Linked DNA regions of Homo sapiens: region 1 is linked to region 2. Evidence: promoter capture Hi-C in 16 types of primary human blood cells and fetal thymus (Javierre and others, 2016). All regions are on one chromosome and are shown on one strand. Each heading gives the region's core, a stretch centred on a gene start or on the middle of the fragment in contact. The rest is flanking DNA. Distances are from core to core; before and after follow the strand shown.

Evidence for each region. Contacts are between HindIII fragments. The CHiCAGO score rates a contact against its expected background, and 5 or more counts as called.
Region 1: a contact is called between a fragment that was not itself captured here and the fragment with the promoter of ZMIZ1-AS1 in region 2, in 2 of 17 cell types (M2 macrophages and endothelial precursors). The highest score is 8.2, in M2 macrophages.

The regions. Positions count from the first base shown.
Region 1 is chr10:78,658,840-78,661,539 of GRCh38, reverse strand. It overlaps LOC105378379 (a long non-coding RNA gene), which reads left to right. Exons shown (of 5, transcript XR_946100.2): 3 at 1,508-1,592. Among named protein-coding and RNA genes, the nearest start is that of LINC00595, 390 kb to the right of the region's middle. The HindIII fragment of the contact is 1,116 bases long and covers 885-2,000 here.
Region 2 is chr10:79,066,082-79,068,781 of GRCh38, reverse strand. It overlaps ZMIZ1-AS1 (ZMIZ1 antisense RNA 1), which reads left to right and starts at 1,334. Exons shown (of 10, transcript NR_024431.2): 1 at 1,334-1,394; 2 at 2,196-2,334. RefSeq lists silencers at 1-35, 296-365, 1,166-1,375, 1,476-1,525, 1,566-1,775, a cis regulatory region at 1-183 and an enhancer at 57-902. The HindIII fragment of the contact is 3,772 bases long and covers 1-2,384 here.

The sequences.
Region 1 (2,700 bases), core at 193-2,692, 410 kb after region 2:
TATTTAGCCAGTCCATGCTAAGTATTTGGGAAGCAGTATGAACAAATAGGCATGGCCCTTGTCCTCATGAGATTGACAGTCTAGTGAGAGAATCAGACATTTATAAAGAAACTCTTAGGGCTATATAATTATCAGCCCTAATGACTGCTCTCACAGACTATCCCAGGCTGTCCTAGAAGCAGAAAAAGCAGACTAAATCTAGTCTGCAGGCAGGGAACCAGTCCAGGAGGAAGTGACATATAAGCTGTGATATAAAGGATGCACTGGAATTAACTAAGTCAAGTCAAGGGAACAACTTCCATAAATGACATGTCCAGTGAGACTCTATTGTGTATAGATTTGGGTGTTTCCAGCTTAGAATGGAAAGGAGTGGGGAAATTCCTTAAAAGGGCTGATCAAAACAGAAATGTGACACATTTTGTTTTCATCAATAAATGGGCTTATATAAATATACAGAAAGCATCAAAATATTTATCGTATCAAAGTTTCCGAGACTGCTGGAGCAATGACTATTTCTCATGGAGGAAATCAGAGTTGATCCAGGTTCTTGCTTTTCATGAGTGGACTCTCCCAGCATTTTAAGAGCAGCGGGTGAGTCGGTCTTCCAAGCAGAAGCTGGACACGAGCCCTGGTTAACCTTAAATGGACTCTCTCCCCTCATCCTCTCTCCCTGCCCATGACCCTTCCTGAGGGCCACTGTTTCTCTGCTCGCAGAGAGGATAGAAGGCAAGACACGAGGGAGATGCAGATTCATAAACTTTACAATTATTCTAATGCTTTCCAAGTGTGTTAAATAGCAAAGTCATTTCATTAAATGTTCATAAGTGTTATGTGGGTTCAGAATGCAATAATTTTGGCAAATGGATCAAACAGTTATGCAAGCTTTTGTTGTAGGCCTTATCAGAGCCTTTGATATTTTGTAATGTGCACTGTAAGTCTCTAATTGAGGATACAACTTGCAATATTTTCCAAACATATTTGACCACAAAACATGCTTTCCCTGGAATATTTCTTGGGTGTGTTATGTTTCAGAATTCATCTTGGTAAATACTGTTTAAATGAGTAACTGAAAGTTAGGGTTTAAAAGTCAAATGGATTGGGCCAGGCATGGTGGCTCACGCCTGTAATCCCAGCACTTTGGGAGGCTGAGGCAGGTGGATCACGAGGTCAGGAGTTCGAGACCAGCCTGGCCAACAGGCTGAAACCCCATCTCCACTAAAAATACAAAAATTGGCTGGGCATGGAGGTACACACCTGCAATCCCAGCTACTCAGGGAGGCTGAGGCAGGATAATCGCTTGAACCCGGGAGGCGGAGGTTGCAGTGAGCCAAGATCGTGCCACTGCATTCCAGCCTGGGTGACAGAACGAGACTCCATCTCAAAAAAAGAAAAAAAAAAAGAAAAAGGTGAAATGGATCTTAGAGGCCACCTTGTCTAAACTTCCACCTAGAGAGGAATATGAATAAAAACCCACTGAGCTAAATTCATTTCTTTTACATTATTCCAGGCATATCTCTTACACTGTGAATGTTGTTAAGTTGTAGGAGAGAAAAGTGCTGTAAAGGAATAAGGATATCCCTGCATTTTACCAGGTAACTATGGGTAAGTCCCTACTCTGGCCTTCAGTTTCTCTAGAGGTTCAATGAATACCATGCATCTTTGGGTTGCTGAAGATTCAATGCTGTATGAAAAGCACCTGATACTGAGCAAGTTACTAGATTTCCCCCTTCCCACCCTGAAAAATAAGCATCATGCTTTACATAAATACTGCATGCAAATATTCTATATGCAATATGCAAATATTCAAGACATTTTTTACAATGTTGGGTTTTGTCCTTGTCCCTAAGGGAACATATTAATGCAAAGTAAAACACTCTGTTCAATTCTGCTGGTTTAGATGATGGCTCATTCTCCCAGGAAGCTCTATTTTATAACCTGGTGTTAAACTTCATTAAATACAAATACTCTGGAGTTTATCATCCTTTATAGGAACCTAAGCTTCAGAATTACAACATTTCAAAGTTTGGGCTCCCTTATGTTTTAGAAAAGTAGAAATAGACTCTACAAGGGGAAGTGACTTGTGAAAGGTTACCACATGAGCTAGAAGCAATTGCAACCCCAGGTAAGCTAGTCATGTCTAGCCTGGGGCCTTTTCTCCAAATCAGCAACTCCTCATTTCTTTTCTTGGAAACTTAAGCTCCAGCATGCTGAAGTGTTTGCTCTTGAATTCTCTTACCTCTGGAAACCAGGAAACTCGATGGATTTTTGTCTTCTCACTTATTTGAGAAGATGCAGTTTGTTGAAAAGAGAATATATGTCAACAATCTGAGTTGGGTGTTTTATGCCAAACAGAGGATTCAGCGTGTTTTATGCCAAACAGAGGATTCAGCATGTTTTAGTGGGATTTGAACTGGAGTCCAAGCTGGGCACAGTCCTCTCTCTTTCTGCAACTAATGAGAAAGGAAGTAAAACATGCTCGACTGTAGGCAAAAGTCTCCTTTCTGTTGTACACACAGGGGAACAGGTGCCAGGCCATGGCCCTGACAGTTATGCAAATCAGTTGTGCAGATTTTAAAAACAAAAACAAAGGTAAACTGACTCTATCTGAGCATAACATTTTATGCAACATGAGCATAAATAACAAGATTCTTCGCTTCTTACTCTCTGGTACTCACGCAGGTGACAGCTTCGGCAGCACTG
Region 2 (2,700 bases), core at 85-2,584:
CCCTTTCCTTTTCGCCTCTCCTCGTTCTCTCCCTCGCCTTTCCTTTCCTTTCTCTTCCTCTCTTCCTCGCTCCTCGGTCTCGGCGCTCTCCCAGCTTTTCTTCTCCTGGCTCCTGGTTCCCCGCTACGCCACCAGTCCACTCACCTCTCTCCTTGCCCTACTCCCTCCGCTACTCCCTGACGCCCCCTGCAGCCCCCAGCCCCCCTGCAGGCCCCAGCCCCAGTAAGTTTGGAGAGGGGAACAAATGCTGAGCCTAGGTAGGGACCACCTTGGGGAGGAAGCCAAAATCACACTGCTCACCCGAGAGCCCCTGCCCCGCGCTGGCACGCCCCCGCCTGGAGTGCACTCGTGGCCCCGGGCGCTGTCAGGTACCCGAATTGGGGTAAGCGAGTTGGTAACTGGACCTCCAAAGCCTTCCCCTGGGGTTGACTTTGGAATTGTTCCTACAGCCCGGGGACTGGTGGTTGGGGTGGGAAGAGGACCACCACCACCAAGGGTGACTTTGAGGGAGACTAGAGCGCGGCCCCCCGACAGCTGTGGGGGAGCGGGGGTGTGGTGGCCACAGTTGATCCGCGGCACCTAGCACAGTCCAGAGACGCGTGGATTCCCCTAGGCCCGGCGCGGAGCGCCCGGGGCGCTGTGCGCGCGGGCTGCGTGGGAGCTGCTAGGCTGGGGCCTGGCCCTCTGCCCCGGACTGGGCACTGCCAGAGATAGCGGAGAGCTAAGGTACTCACGAGGCGCAGTTGGGTGCACCCACTCGCGGGAGTTCCCCTAGCCGACCCACCCCCCCCCCCCGAGAGCATCCAACTACGCGCCCACTTTGGCTCACGTCCACTGCCACTCTCACGGAAACTCCTACAAGAACGGCACACACGTTCGCTCCCTCAGCATTGCAAACACGCTCCCCCCCAAACCACAAACGCGCCCCCACACACTCGCTTACTTTCCCTCACAAAGATGCCCGCTTACACGGCCACAGCAGGCACGCTCAGAGACACGCAGTTACACACACACATCGCTGTACACAACCCCACATACAATCAAAAAACAAAACACGAAACGTTCCCCTGGGCACTAAATCCTCACGTTAACGTACACACACAAACACACGCCCTCCTCTCCCACTTCCTCTTCCATACCCCTTCCTCGAGGCCCCCCACCCCTGATTTTCGGCACCCCCAGTCCCAATCATAATTGGCGCCCGCGCAGCCCTCTTTGGACACACACGCGCCGCCCACGCACGCGCTCCCCTCCCCGGCAGGCGGGGGCGGCTTCGGCCGGGAGCCGGCGGAGCCCGCTTCGGATTCCAGGTGTGGCAGTGACTCCGCGCTCCACGTTTTGCAGGCTGCCACCGTGTCGGAGGCGAGGCGAGGAAGGGAGCTGGAATAACAAAGGCAAGTTGGGGAGAGCGCAAGGGGGCGCAGCCCCGGCCGGGCTGCGGGGGGAGCCTTGCACGGCCGGGGCTTCGGAGGCTGCAGGGTCGGGGGCGCGGGGAGCCGGAGGTGGGGGAGGAAGGGTGGGGGGAGAGGGGCGGGGCTGAGGCGTGACGTCAGAGAACAATGACACCGCCGGGGGGCGGGCACCCGGAGGCGGCCCAGGCGGGGGTCTCCCCCGGGGCCTGGGGCGGGCCGAAGATGTCCAGGCCTGGCCGGAGCCGCCTCCTGATTGACGAGGCCCGCATGGGAGTGCGGACGTGCAGCACAGATTTGCGGGTCTCCTGGGCCTCTTGGGCGGTGATCAGCGCGGACCTTGGGCCAACCGGGGAAGCAGGCCGGAGCACTACCCCCCACCCCCATTTTAGAACATCCTTCTGAGGGCTTCGCTGACCTCGGCTTGAACTCCTTCAGAGCCGGAGAGATCACTCCTTCCACCACCGAGGGAGAGGAGGCAAAATGAATTTGCCAGCTTTGAATTCATTCTCAAGGCTCCGCTAGTCTCACAGCCAGTGAACTCAGTCTGGAATTCCTGAAAGCTCAGAAAACTGCTGCTTAGGTCCACCCGGGCGTGGGGGACGGGGTGTGTGGGGGCGCAGGCGGCGGAGTGGGGGCGTTATTTTATTTTCCCCAGGGGAAATTCTGCCTCCCTATGCCATTGGGTGCAAGAAAAGGCACTCCTTTGGGGCCTCAGTCTTCCTACCTGTCACATGGACATGGACTGTGATGACTGCTGCTCTTCCACCCCCGCCCTCCCTGTAGGTGGCAGCTGAGCATCCCTGGAGAGGGTGGGTGGTATGAAAGCACTTCCAGACCTCTAGGGACACCAGGGAGTCATGGTCCCAGCACATTGCTGTGTGATTGAGCCCCTCCTCAGCCTGTGGGTGGCCTAAGTTCACAGGTAGGTACACCAGGGCCACCTGAGAAACCTCCGAAGGTAGGAATTAAGCTTGCAGAACGGTGGCTGCAGCCACAGCTGTCCCACTCCCAGCAATCCACAGCATTGCAGCAGTGGCAGCAGCCACCCCATACCCAGGTCCAAAATCCCAAAAGAGAGTTTCTGGGTATTTAAGGATTTGGGATGTGATAATCCAGCCCAGCCCACAATTAGACCAGTTCTTGTTGCCTTAATGACCAGCTAGGTCTGGACGCCCAGCCCTCTCAACCTTTCTGTCCAGATTCCTCAATAAGTATCCAGGGCCTGCCCACTTCCAGGAATTGGGGGATGCAGGTGACCTCGGAGGTGACCACTCATGTTCAAAGTCTC